Linked DNA regions of Homo sapiens: regions 2, 3 and 4 are each linked to region 1. Evidence: promoter capture Hi-C in 16 types of primary human blood cells and fetal thymus (Javierre and others, 2016). All regions are on one chromosome and are shown on one strand. The core of a region is centred on a gene start or on the middle of the fragment in contact, and the rest is flanking DNA. Distances in the headings are between cores, read along the strand shown.

Region 1 (3,210 bases), core at 318-2,817:
AAGCGTTCCTAATAGGTGGTAAGGTGGTCATCTAGGGTATAGCTAAGGGCCAGACTCGAGTCAATTAGAATCCTGGGACCTGTCAAACGCAGTCCTGCGGAGCAGCCTTCAGACAGTGAATCTATAAAATGGATGGTTTCTTTCTTTCTTTTTTGAGACGGGGTCTCCCTGTCACCCAGGCTGGAGTGTAATGGTGCCATCTCGGCTCACTGCAACTTCCCCTTTCCGGGTTCAAGGGATTCTCCCACCTCAGCCTTCCAAGTAGCTGAGATTACAGGCACCCGCCATCATGCCCGGCTAATTTTTGTATTTTTGTAGAGACGGGGTTTCACCATGTTGGTCAGGCTGGTCTTGAACTCCTGAGCTCAGGTGATCCTCCCCCACTCGGCCTCCCAAAGTGTTGGGATTATAGGCGTGAGCCACCGCGCCCGCCCGGATGAATTTTCAAATAGAAACAATCCAGTTTCCCACATCACACGGAGATTGTGTGGATGGGTAATCCATGAAAAGCCTGGTGCTGGCACTCAGTCCCAATAAATGTTAGCTAAAAATTAGGAACTTTTCAAAGGGATGAATGTGCTTTCTAATAGAAGTAGCTGCCAGTGACATCTTGGGAGCCTCTTTTTAAAAGCAAAAAATTATTTCATCTTAAATTTTCACAAGTTCAGATTTTTATGTACCTGATTTTAACGGAGTATGAAACAGCTTGCTCTCGTAGTTACTCACCGTCATATGTTAATCGTATCATTTCTGAGCTGTTTTTTGATTTTACAAACCCTTAAATTAAGAAACGGATTAGGAACCGCCCATTAACACTGTTGGCAAATGATTTAAAATCAGGGTTGCTGGTTTTTCTGTGATAATCTATCGGCTTCAAGACGCACAGATCTCACTTTCATGGAAAGAAGTTGCCTGATACAGTTTTCCACCGGAGAGAAAAATAAAGGCTGGTACTTGGAACCTGCAAGCCGTGCATTTGGAACCTCGGACTCAAGTGCCTATTACGTAATTCCACAGCGTCCCGGCCTCCAGGCCGTTTCCCGAGCCCTCCAGCGGAGCGGGGGATAAGGTTACCACGCCCGCGGTGGCCGGGGACACTCTGAGTTTCGCGTGTGGCTTTTAGGGACGTTTATATTTGAATTTCCCTGAACCGCCGAGTGTGGGCGGTGGCGCAGATCCGTCCCGGAAACCTCCGGGCTCCTTCCCGCCTTTCTCAGGCCCGGCCCCTCCAAGGGGTCCCCGCGGGGCGGCGGGAGGGCCCTGGGCCCAGAGCCGCGCGGGTGGGCAGTCCCAGGCGTCCTTCCTTACAGCCCTGAGCCTGGTCCGGGAACCGCCCAGCCGGGAGGGCCGAGCTGACGGTTGCCCAAGGGCCAGATTTTAAATTTACAGGCCCGGCCCCCGAACCGCCGAAGCGCGCTGCCTGCTCCCCATTGGCCCATGGTAGTCACGTGGAGGCGCCGGGGCGTGCCGGCCATGTTGGGGAGTGCGGCGCCGCGGCCCGCGCCACCTCCGCCCCCCGCGGCTTGCCTCCAGCCCGCCCCTCCCGGCCCTCCTCCCCCCGCCCGCCGCTCCGTGCAGCCTGAGAGGAAACAAAGTGCTGCGAGCAGGAGACGGCGGCGGCGCGAACCCTGCTGGGCCTCCAGTCACCCTCGTCTTGCATTTTCCCGCGTGCGTGTGTGAGTGGGTGTGTGTGTTTTCTTACAAAGGGTATTTCGCGATCGATCGATTGATTCGTAGTTCCCCCCCGCGCGCCTTTGCCCTTTGTGCTGTAATCGAGCTCCCGCCATCCCAGGTGCTTCTCCGTTCCTCTAAACGCCAGCGTCTGGACGTGAGCGCAGGTCGCCGGTTTGTGCCTTCGGTCCCCGCTTCGCCCCCTGCCGTCCCCTCCTTATCACGGTCCCGCTCGCGGCCTCGCCGCCCCGCTGTCTCCGCCGCCCGCCATGGCGACTGCGACCCCCGTGCCGCCGCGGATGGGCAGCCGCGCTGGCGGCCCCACCACGCCGCTGAGCCCCACGCGCCTGTCGCGGCTCCAGGAGAAGGAGGAGCTGCGCGAGCTCAATGACCGGCTGGCGGTGTACATCGACAAGGTGCGCAGCCTGGAGACGGAGAACAGCGCGCTGCAGCTGCAGGTGACGGAGCGCGAGGAGGTGCGCGGCCGTGAGCTCACCGGCCTCAAGGCGCTCTACGAGACCGAGCTGGCCGACGCGCGACGCGCGCTCGACGACACGGCCCGCGAGCGCGCCAAGCTGCAGATCGAGCTGGGCAAGTGCAAGGCGGAACACGACCAGCTGCTCCTCAAGTGAGTGCTAGCTGGCGGCCGCGTTAGCGCCAAGGAGGGGCGGGGGCGCAACCGCGGCGACCAGCTCACCGGGTTCTGCCGTGGGGAGGGAGCAGAGGCCAGGATGCACGCGTCCTTCTGAAGGAACAGGGTCTCGGTCTCCGGAAAGGAGAAAGAATCTAGAGTTCATAGCGGAGCAGGGGTCGCGGAGGGGGCTCGAGCTGTAGCGCTGGGGGGCCGTGATGCCCATTTCTAGATTTTGGATACCCGCTGGGACGTGGTAAGTGCGCGCCTGGGACTGCCGAGAAGGAGCTCCCGCTTTCGCACTCGAATCCGGGGAGCCGGCGCGGAGAGGCGGCCCCTCAGGCCCCAGGTGCGGGGAGCTGGAGCGCGAGCGCGCGCTCGCGTGCGCGCCCCAGTTTCCGGCCGGCGCGAGACAAAGCGTCTAGCGGATTTGCAGTGCCGGGATGGGCGGCCGGGGAGGACTGGCAGCCCGCCTCTAGAATGAATGAGCTTCGCGCGGGCAGAGAGAGGAAGGGGAGGGACCTTCCCGCAGCATCCGCGTCTCCTGGGGGTGGGTCCCGCTTTGGCGCGCTCAGTCTTGGCCCTGTGACGTTTTGCGAAGATTCTACGCCTGCTTTAGGCGGGAGAGAGAGGCGGAGCTTGATCCGTGCGCCTCCAGCCAGCCCCGGGCAAGTTAGGTTTGCTAGCTGGTTAGCTTTCTCTGGGGAAATGTGTCCTGTCCCAGCGGGGATGGTGCGGTCCCTCGGGTGGTTCTGCGCAGGGAAGGAAAGCTGGGTTTGTGCATGTCACGGCTACCGTTCTTAGAATTGCGGTTCTCCTACCCCTCAGGCAGCGGCCCTCTGTCCCCAGCTTTTGCCTCCTCGTAGTATAGTCAGGCTTTCGGGTAGAGACTGTGCTTAGTACCCCTT
Region 2 (3,559 bases), core at 427-2,926, about 37 Mb after region 1:
AAATATAAATTTAAAAGAGACTGCACCAGGCCCAGTAGCTCAGGCCTGTAATCCCAGGACTTTGGAGGCCAACGTGGATTGCTTGACCCCATGGGTTTGAGGCTGCTGTGAGCTACAATCTCACCCCTGCACCCCAGCATGGGAGACAGGGACCCTGTCTCAATAAATATATATTTTTTTTTAAAGAGAGAATGCCTAAACTCAAATCCATTTTAATTTGTTGCCAAATTTAAGTTATAGAAAGTGAAATTAAATGTCACTAGGAAAAGCCCACATTTTAAAATATGTCAAAATTAGTGAGAAAAAAATCCCACTGGTCTATACGTACATCAGAAATCCCAAATTCAGCAGCTACTGCTAAATTCCGAAAGTTACTGGATTTACTAATTTATAATCGTAATCTAAAACCATTGTTGAGGAAACTATGAATTGTACAATTCAGAAAAGTAACTGAGATCCAAGCTGACATAATGTCTTTCACACGAATCTTGAGGCACTCAAAGCACCTCCATATACTGTAATATATATAATAGCTAATAGCTAACATATAGTATGAACTTATTACATACCAGTGAATACTCCAAGCTCTTCATACACGTGAATACCATGTTAAGCTCAAAACAATCCCATGAGAAGGGTACTATAACTACCTTATCTTGTGGATAAGGAAGATATAGAGACACTGAACAATCTCTCGCCCAAGTTTACAAAACTAGGAAACAAGTAGTCTCCCTTCACCATATTACACTGCCATCAAACATCTTGGGCATCTAACCTGAGAACTAAATCTAATTTCAACCTGTTAGTTTAATTATACACTTAACAAAGAAAAAGCGGGTCCAGATCCAAAGAGCATTGGTGAAAAGAAATAAAAGGAGTACTACTTATTTTATGCACACACCTCTTCACCACCTGCTTGACCACTCCACAAACATGCAGGATTTTCAAGCTTTTAGATGAGAAAACTAATCACCTGACATCATCTCTAAATTCTCTGCCCGTTATTCTATCCCTATTTTCTTTGTTGTCCTTTCCTATATTTATCTATTTATGAATTACGCTTCCGTACAGGAGCTTAACCTCTCCACTGCAGGTACGTTATCTGTTGTCTTCCTGCCTGTCTTCAGTGCACGGAAGAAATATTTGTTCCTTTAGCAACCTAGTTAATCTGTTCCCAGCTGAAGCCCGTCAGAGAAGCAGAAGCAGCAGTCTTAGTTTGAAAACTAAACACGAAAATAGGCTCCTCAAATTTCCACAACTCAGCACCTGCCCTGAAGAGGCGGGGGCTCTGACCAGACCCAAACCTGGTCAGTGTTATCCTCTTTCTCTTTCTGCCAGCCACAGGAGCCGTCGGGACACCCAACAGTCGTTCAGGGAAACGGGGCTGGGGGCGTCTGGGAAGAGGAAACTGAACACAAGCCCCGAGCTGCCGCTACCTTGAGGATCTCGCGGCCGCCCACCGACAGCGCCACATGCCGGCTCTGGAGGCCGCACTGGATATCCTGGGCGCGCGTGCCTGGCGGCACCTGAACTTCAATGAACACCTCCTCCAAGGTCTGGTACCACTGGCCCCACGGGGTCCCGCACGGTACCACCCCACTCCGCTCCTCAAACGGGGCCGACATAATCCAGTCCCTCCCGGCCGCGGCCGCACCAGGCGGAGCCGAGCGCACGCGCGGAATCCCACGCTTAGGCTACGCCTCGGCCTCTCCGCTCGGGTCACTGCGCATGCGCAGGAACGCAAGCTAGCGCTTTGGTGTGCGTGTTCGTTTTTCCCTTTGAATGGCCGTTTACGGCACCGGCAGGCCCCGGATGAAAGAACTGAAATCCAGAAAAGTTCACATGCAACGAACAATGGGACAGAATTGGAACCAGTGAAGCCGGAACTCACTACACCGTCCCCTAAGTGACGCCAAAATGCACTTTCTAACGTCTCCGGAGGGAAGTGCGCTTGCGCAAATGCTAGGTTACACTTGAGTAACTCCGGGAATGACTGGGTGGGTGGGGCGGGGAACAGTAACGGTCTCCTATTGGATGGCAGCCTAAACTCGCAGGCCAGCTAATTGGACGCAATCAGAACCCAGCATTCTTTCTTCGTGTTCCTGTGCGGGATTGGTGTGCCCAGGGGTTTGGCTTTCCAATTGGCTAACGCCGGGGTGGGTGGGGAATGTGGGGAGATTTGAATTTGAAACCGGTAGGGAGTGATAATCCGCATTCAGTTGTCGAGGAGTGCCAGTCACCTTCAGTTTCTGGAGCTGGCCGTCAACATGTCCTTTCCTAAGGCGCCCTTGAAACGATTCAATGACCCTTCTGGTGCGTAAGGGGGAAAGAGCTGGGGGACGGGAGACGCCCTAACGCCCTTTGCCTCTTTCAGCTCCCTTCTTGGGAGGCAAGCAGGAGGCGATTTTAGGGTCGGGCTGGGGCTCATTCAGTTGATTGATTTTTCTCAAATATGCTCTAAGCATCTGTTACATGCCAAGCACTAATCAGGATGCTAAGGATACCGCAGTGAAACAGTCTCCGCCCCGTGGGGCTTACATTCAGGCGGGGAATACTGTCAATAAACAGCGGTAATGGAGAAACTACAGCAGGGCGAAGGGAATGGACCCGAGACGTTGGTAGCTACTTGATTTTCAAGTCCGAGAGGGCCTCACTGATAAGAACACTGGAGTATTACTTGTAGTCTGAACTTGTGCATTTCTTTTGTGTATTCCATTTGGGCATAAAAGAAGGAAGATTAGTAAAGGCAGTTTATGGGTGTAAAATTAGAGCAGCAGCACTTATTGAAAACATAAACAATGAAGTTATGGCTGATATTGACCACTTATACCTCAAGCACCGTACTAAGGCTTTACATCGATTATTAGTTATGTTAATTTCCCACCAACTCTAAGGGGTAATCCTATTATTATTTTATTGATAAAAAGACTGAGACTTAAATTTGCTCAGTGCTACATTACCAAAGTGACCGGACTGGAATATGAACCCAGCCCCCATCGTGTGCTCTTAACACCGCAATGCACAGCACAGTAACCAGGAAGCCTTAGCTGTGTTTGGTAGGCACTCATCATTTAAGATGCTGTATGCGGCCGGGCGCGGCGGCTCACGCCTGTAATCCCAGCACTTTGGGAGGCCGAGGCAGGTGGATCACGAGGTCAGGAGATCGAGACCACCGTGAAACCCCGTCTGTACTAAAAATACAAAAAAAATTAGCCAGGCGCGGTGGCGGGCGCCTGTAGTCCCAGCTGACTACAGGCTGAGGCAGGAGAATGGCGTGAACCCGGGAGGCGGAGCTTGCGATGAGCCGAGATCGCGCCACTGCACTCCAGCCTGGGCGACAGAGCAAGACTCTGTCTTACAGAAAAAAAAAAAATGCTGTATGCTGGGACTGTGCTACTAGATCTTGTTTATTCCTTCCAAAAGCCAAGTGAGGAAGGTACTGATATTGACCTCATTTTACAGATGAGAAAACAGAGGTTTTGTATCTTGCACAATCAGTAAGTGGTAGAGCTAAATATTAAAGCTCATGATTTATTCACTATCATACACTATTTCGTGG
Region 3 (3,469 bases), core at 439-2,938, about 28 Mb before region 1:
AAGGAGATCTCTGGCAGGGGAGGGAGAGGAAGAAGCGGGGGAAGGAGACGTCAGATCCTTCCCCAGCCAGAAAGTACCGAGACAGCCAACTGAGAGCAGAGCTGTCCTCCGACCTCAGCAAAGAGAATTCACTCCTACGATTATTTCCATTCCACAAGAGAGGGAGGGAAACAGATTGTTACCAACTCAATGATAGCAAAGTCTGCATCTGGATCAGGATGTTAATTCTCTAGACTACTGTCCAGTAGACTCTGCAAGAACAGGTTATCTAAAAAGTAACCGTTCTACTCAACATTTATTCCTAATGTTAAATATTAATCTCAACCCTAGTCAAAGTGCCTTACTGAACAATTAAGTCTTAAAAAATCTAAGTATGTTAACAAACTGCCTTTCCCGTTTCTTCCTTTAAAAAGTTCACTCCCCTTTTCGTTCTTTCCTTTTCACCTTCCTTTCGTCCCTCAAAATGGCTTTCTCTGTACATTTTAACTTCCTTTCCCCTCCATCTCCCTTATCCGAATAAGTCCTCTGAGACCCTTTTCACAACCCTGAGTTCTGAAGCTCCAAGCGCACACAGCGCTGTGTCCTCTCAAGCGTCTCCACAATGACTACCCTAAGTTATTAAACCTCTTCAATCCTCTGTCTTTTAGCAGTTGCTTTGCTCCTGCTAAGTTTTTAAAGCGGCACTCGAAAGAGGTTTGGAAACCATCCTCACTCATCCATCCAGCGCGCTCCAATCAGCCTCCCTCGCGGACCTGCCCCCCTCTCCCAGGGCCTCCATCCCGGTCCAGGAGTCCCTCTTCCCGCCTCAAACTTCCCGCAGACCCGCCCCGCGCCCTCCCAGGCTCGCCCGAGCCGCCGCCCCCTCCCCCTCCCGCCGCTCCCCACGTGCTGGGAGCCCGGGTCGCGGCAGGACCCACGCACCGGCTAAGTGCTAGCCATTCGCGGGTCTCCTCTCGCGGCCCGGTCGGCACCAAGCCGAAGAGGCCGGGGCAGGGCCGCCGGGCCGGCGCAAGGATGCGTTCTGCGGCCCCGGCCTGTACTCGCCGCTCACACGCCCCCTGCGCGCCAGGCCCGTACACCGCCACCGGCACTCACAGAGCCACCCGGCCTTCACCCGGCCGCTGGGCCGCCGCCTGGGCACCGCGCCGCGCCCGCCCTCCGCCCGGCCGGTTCCTGTCCTCTCCGCCACATCCTGACCCGCCCGCCGCCCCCTTTCTTACCGGCGGGCTTGGCGGGGCGGAGGGAGCCGACTCGGGTGGACGGCCTCCCCCGCGCCCAGGCCCGGGATCTCCGCCGCCCAGTCCTAGGGCTCCGGCGTCTCGGGGTAAGCAAGAGTCCGTGCGGGGGAGGGGGAAGGGGACAGACGCGGAGGGGAAGGGGAAGCCCCGGTCCGCAGCACCAACGCGCGATCCCCTGCGGAGTGGAGCTAACAATTCATTATTGAAGCACCAAGGGCGAGGGCAGCAAGAGCTATAAGTAACCAGTCGTCGCCGCCGCCGCCGCCGCCGTCGCGCGCGCGCTCCCGCTCCCTCCGCTTATCTGCCCCCGGCAGCCGCCATGACGCCGAGAAAGCAAGCGAGCGCAACCGTCTCCGTCGTAGCCGCCGCCGCCACCGAGGTCGCCGTCGCCTCCGCCTCCCGCGCGACGTAAGCGCCTCTGCTCACTCCCCTTCCCGACAGAGCGCGAGGCGGGCGGGCGCGCGCACGCCGAAGCCTTTCTGCTCGCGCGCGGGAGGCGGGAGGGACTACGTTGAAGGGTCGTGGGCGTAGGAAAAAAGCGATTGGTGCTGGGGCGGGGCGGGGGGGGCGAGTGCGCGCACGCGCACGAATGGGAGTGCGCACGGCGGATGCGCAGAGGCTGTCGGACTCTGACTGCGCGGAGACCGCTGGACTCTGGTCGCGGCCTTAGTCCGCTGATCCTCGCTTGGGTGCCCGCCCTTAGCGGCCCGGCGTTGAATTCCGGGAAGTGGGAGCTTCAGGCTCGCTCCGTGCGGGTATGGGCGCTAATGTCACTTGGGATGGTTGCGCAAGGACATCGCGGCGGACACTGACAAGGAACCGGGGAGGAACGGGGGTGGGGAGAGACTGCGATGGGACTCGGGAAGCCGGGAAGGGCCGCGCTGAATAAGCCTAAGGGGCCGGGTCGCAAGGAGTGTCGGGTAGCACAGGCCTCGGCTCAGTCGGAGCGCCAGGCCTCAGGGTCCGGGCGGGGGCTGCTGCGTCACACCAGGCAGCCTGGGAACGCAACTGTTGGGCAACCGTGGTGGCCTCTCGCCACCTCTTACGCTTGGGCGATCTGCGATTGACGCATCCTGGGAGCTGATGTCCCGCACGGGCGGGGCGCCGGAGGAGGAGAGAAAATAGAGACCCGGTTGTTGACAGCCTGTGATGCCGCTTGATTCATGTGTGGGTGGCCTGGTTTAGAAATGTACCACCCTTCCTTTCTAGGTTCCTCCCCGGAGGGCGGGGTGACGGGTGCGGCGCCGAATCGCAACAAAAAACGCTGCTCGAGGGATGTTAGTAACTGTCTCAGCTTAAGTTGCTGCCTTTTAGCTTACAGTTTGTATCGTAACTGTAATTGTGGATCTTAGTTAAATCCCTTCAGTGTGTTGGAAACATATTTTTAAGTGTATTTTTGAAACATACTTAGAGCATTTTGAAATGCTTTTTTGAAAGCGTTTTTTAAATCAAAATTCTGTTACACTTTATTTTTTTCAGTCTGCAGATGAACTTGACTCACTCAAGGTTAATGATTTTTGTTTTTTATTTATGTTTGTAGAGGCGGGGTTTTGTCATGTTGCTAGGTTGGTGTTGAACTCCTGAGCTCGAGCGATCCACCTGCCACTGCCTTCCAAAGTGCTGGAATTACAGGCGTGAGCCACGGCGCCCGGTGGCCGAGGTTAATAATAATTAAAAGTTTCTAATCCCATTGTTCAGTTATTTGATTTGGTGTAAAGGCGCACTTTCCAAGTCAGATGAGTTTGTGGTAACATACATTCCCCAAATAATTATTTTTCCCTTGTGGGAAATATTCCAGTTTTAGGCTACCAGCTGTTTAAACAGTTTGGTTCAAATCCTTCAAAAAAATCTCAAAACATAACTCCACATATGTATTTACTACATATTGAAGGGTGTATTCACTTGGAGAAGTAGGAGAAAGCAAACAGATGCCAATGGCCTTTTTGAAAACATGTATCTATCAGCAATAATTGAATAGCAAAACGAAGTGGAACACTACCATCCTTTGCAATATTAGATAGTTTTAATACTGGGTTGTGAGGAATGAAAAGATCATACAAATCGTCATTTCTGAAGTCATTTCTGAAGTCGTCATTTCTGAACTGAGTGCTAATTTTTCATATTAAGCTTTATGTTAATATCCTTAATGAGAGGAACTTCCTGTGCCCGTAATTTCTCCAGAGAAACTATTAACATACACAGAATGTTGTAATCAGAAGTATAGTTCAGTT
Region 4 (3,340 bases), core at 119-2,618, about 37 Mb after region 1:
AAAGCTTAATCTACTTTCACAAAAAGAAGTTCAGTATAAAAATGAAAATAGCTTTTCGTGTTTTCCTTCATTAAAAATGAAACAACGAAGAGCTTGGCACAGACTTACTGCTCTCAAAACCTGTAGAATTAAAGCTTACTGACTCATGAGAACGAGAACTGTCTCATAGTTAACGTTAGAGAAGCATCCTGGAGTGGTTGTTGTTAGTAATACTGTCTGTGGAGCACAGTAGCGTCGCAGTAGAAGTTAGACCAATCCCACCTAAGTAGTCAGAGAATCTTAAAAAGTAAAGCCCAGTAATGTTTACCTTAAGGGTCTGTTTCTGGGGAATTAAAAAATTAAACATGGAACTGTGCCAAGTTTTAAAGTTTCCAAAAACGACAAGGTATTTACCACTGAAATTTGGGAAAACCACATACTAATAGTATTCCATTCTTTACTTTTCTAGAACATTTTTAGTAGACATTAATGCAGGTGTGCTAAAGTAGAAATCACTGTCCCAGAGTACTGTGTTGGACCATTTGGAAGGAGCCATGTATCTCCCATTACCTATACAATTTGGTATCATTCGATTAGATACGATAATAAGAATATTTATTTATATGTACTTAATTTTTCAAGAAATGTTTTTTTGGTGTCCATAAATCTGGTCCCTTGGAGTGATTGAATTCCGTACTTCAGAGTTTAGACAATAAGAGGCAGATACGTTTAGAGTAACTTAAACTGATATTAGATCTACTTTCCCCCATATAATAAAAATTGAGAAAAAGTAGACTTCAGGCAAAGTATTATCAACTCTTTATTGTGCCTTGAGTGAACTAGATAGCATTTTATTCTTTCATTCTGACTTTCTTAAAGTGTTTAGACATTTCTTCCTTGTGCACAACTAAAATAATTTATGGAGTGCAGGTCCAAAGTAGTTTTTAGAGGGATATTTCTTTTTCTAAAGAACGAACCAAAAAGCCTCAACAAAACAGTGTAAAAGGCAGAGTATTGCTTATATAGAAGCTCAAAAACAGAGATATTTGTTTGGCATATTTTAAATTTCGGAGTAATGCATATTCAGAGGAAAAGTTACCTTATTTAAGTAAACGAAACTATTCGGACTCCTCGTGGTAGGGATAATATGGAAAATGTTAGAAATATAGAACTTTAAAGCTGAAAGAGCCTTAGTCATTTTGTCTAAATGCCTTCCCCATTTACCAATGAGGAATTAGATCAATAGAGATAGAATAACTTCTAAACACCAATTTGTGGCAGAACAGATAAAACTTTAATCATTCATGAAACCAAATATTAGTTCACAGGATTGAGACAAAATGCAGTGTATTTGACTTGACCAGAGAAGCAAGACTCAGGTTCTGGTTCCAGCTTTTTCTCTTTTACTATAGACAAAACATTTAACACTGGACTTCTTGTTACTCTCTTTGGAAATAATATCTCTTCTAACAAGCTGCTGGGTTTTTTTGTTTTCTTTTTTTTCCTCTTGCTCTTTCACCCCGTCTGAAGTGCAGTGGCTCAATCTCTGCTCACTGCAACCTCTGCCTCCAGGGTTCAAGCGATTCTCCTGCCTCAGCCTCCCAAGTAGCTGAGATTATAGGCGCCCACCACCATGCCCGACTAGTTTTTCTATTTTTGGTAGAGACAGCGTTTCACCATGTTGGCCAGGCTGGTTTTGAACCCCTGACCTCAAGTGGTTGGTCCACCTTGGCCTCCCAAAGTGCTGGGATTACAGGCGTGAGCCCTGGCACCCGGCCTCAAACTGCTATTAAAAAAACAAAAACAGCTATGATTGTATACTTATATAACACGTTAGTTTTCTTTTTTTTGGTTTTTTTGTTTGTTTGTTTTTTTGAGATGAAGTCTAGCTCGTGTCCCCCAGGCTGGAGTGCAGTTGTGCGATCTCGGCTCACTACGACCTCCGCCTCCTGGGTTCGAGCGATTCTCCTGCCTCAGCCTCCCGAGTAGCTTAGATTACCTAAAATTACCTAGAAAAAAATATGAAACAGTGTACAGTACCCAGCAGTCAGGTGTCAGTGCTCAAGATTTTTATTAAGAGTGACGATCTGAAGTGCAAGCATTTACTGAAATGGAAATGATACTGCACAACATTTTATTTGAAAATTAACATGTTATAGGCCGGGCGTACTGGAGGCCTTACATAGTAACCCAGGGGTATAAGGATATAAAGTTGCATTTTCTCATACAACTCCACTTCCTTTTTTACGTTAAGGTATTATATTCCCTAAAGAGCCTTGTTCTTCTCTATACTTAATACTGCATCAACTCCAAGAAGCTCTTAATTAAAAGAAGATCATCTGGGCTCTTAAGTTGCATTAAGTTAGCAAAAACTACTGCAAAACTGTGACGATTCATAAGATTTTTTTTAAATTCATTTAACAGATGTTAAAATGAAACTGTACTTCACAGAGTCAGTGAAGTACACAGATCTTAATTCATTGTTTAGTAACTTTTGTGGATTGTATAATGCTTTGGCTTCTATTTCAAGTTTTCTTTTTTAAGGGGGAAAGATACTGTTGTCATTTTGAGAAAGGTAGATGGCACTTTTTGTTTTCCTTGTGTAAGAGAAACGGATTGTTATGAAAGCTTTGAACTTTCCTGGAGTTCGAGAGTACACTGGTCCTCTAAGTGCGGTCTCCAAATCACGATGATCAGCATCACTTGTTGGAACTTGTTGGGAATGCAAATTATCAAGCCCCACCCCAGACCTTTGTGATCTAAAAGCCCTCCAGGTGATTCTGATCCACACTGAAGCACGAGAACCACTGACCTTAGGAACTGTTACCTGTTCCTTTGCTTCCGTAGAGTGAAGTAAAAAGTGAGGAACTCAGAAGAAACCAAATTATCTCTCTTTTAGAGTATTTTTTCAGGAATCTTTACCGTATTTATCCTGTGTAAATTGTTTTCTCTGACTGTATCTGTACTAGACTTGGCATGTTTTCTCCTCTTTACAGTTCAATCTTTGTAGAGCTGTTTTCTTGCCAAATTTCAAAGAAAATATTTTGTTGGCTGAAATCCTTGTTTTCATAGATCAGTTGGTTTAGAGCCAAGTTTTGCAACACAGCCTGAATGAAATTGCTTTCAACTTTTAAAATGTCTTGAAATTGGTTGAACTAAGGAAAAATAATCCTAAGAATTTACCTTTATACTATCTTTCCCTGTTAGTCTTTTCATTTTACGTTTTTGATTGCTAGAAATACTTGATTTTGGTGTCTTTTAAAAAAAAATGTATGTATTCGGCTAAGTAATTTAATTGAGCTAAGGGCTTTAAAAGGTCTTTGGTTATTGTATATGTATTTAAAGATTTTGACAGCCCAGA

What was found. The method cuts DNA at HindIII sites, captures the fragments that hold promoters and counts their contacts. A CHiCAGO score of 5 or more calls a contact.
Region 2: a contact is called between the fragment with the promoter of NUDCD2 here and the fragment with the promoter of LMNB1 in region 1, in 1 of 17 cell types (total CD8 T cells). The highest score is 9.4, in total CD8 T cells.
Region 3: the fragment with the promoter of CHD1 here is called in contact with the fragment with the promoter of LMNB1 in region 1 in 1 of 17 cell types (total CD8 T cells); the score reaches 7.1 in total CD8 T cells.
Region 4: a fragment that was not itself captured here is called in contact with the fragment with the promoter of LMNB1 in region 1 in 1 of 17 cell types (naive CD4 T cells); the score reaches 6.0 in naive CD4 T cells.

What each region holds. Positions count from the first base shown.
Region 1 is chr5:126,775,569-126,778,778 of GRCh38, forward strand. It overlaps LMNB1 (lamin B1), which reads left to right and starts at 1,568. Exons shown (of 11, transcript NM_005573.4): 1 at 1,568-2,299. The coding sequence starts at 1,941. LMNB1-DT (LMNB1 divergent transcript) reads right to left here and starts at 918. Exons shown (of 4, transcript NR_134485.1): 1 at 727-918. RefSeq lists silencers at 345-394, 1,045-1,694, 1,895-1,974, 2,285-2,334, 2,545-2,654 and enhancers at 1,329-2,129, 3,145-3,210. The HindIII fragment of the contact is 4,360 bases long and covers 1-3,210 here.
Region 2 is chr5:163,458,426-163,461,984 of GRCh38, forward strand. NUDCD2 (NudC domain containing 2) reads right to left here and starts at 1,677. Exons shown (of 4, transcript NM_145266.6): 1 at 1,437-1,677. The coding sequence starts at 1,625. It overlaps HMMR (hyaluronan mediated motility receptor), which reads left to right and starts at 2,207. Exons shown (of 18, transcript NM_001142556.2): 1 at 2,207-2,313. The coding sequence starts at 2,268. RefSeq lists enhancers at 1,394-1,643, 2,394-2,453 and a silencer at 1,974-2,063. The HindIII fragment of the contact is 3,644 bases long and covers 948-3,559 here.
Region 3 is chr5:98,927,319-98,930,787 of GRCh38, forward strand. CHD1 (chromodomain helicase DNA binding protein 1) reads right to left here and starts at 1,689. Exons shown (of 36, transcript NM_001270.4): 1 at 1,221-1,689. CHD1-DT (CHD1 divergent transcript) reads left to right here and starts at 1,244. Exons shown (of 4, transcript NR_151718.1): 1 at 1,244-1,324. It overlaps LOC100289230 (a long non-coding RNA gene), which reads left to right and starts at 1,816. Exons shown (of 1, transcript NR_036530.1): 1 at 1,816-3,469. RefSeq lists silencers at 833-1,462, 1,723-1,932 and enhancers at 1,706-2,604, 2,093-2,422. The HindIII fragment of the contact is 7,543 bases long and covers 1-3,363 here.
Region 4 is chr5:163,506,781-163,510,120 of GRCh38, forward strand. The region is part of intron 1 of MAT2B (methionine adenosyltransferase 2 non-catalytic beta subunit); the gene reads left to right. Among named protein-coding and RNA genes, the nearest start is that of MAT2B, 2.8 kb to the left of the region's middle. The HindIII fragment of the contact is 2,473 bases long and covers 133-2,605 here.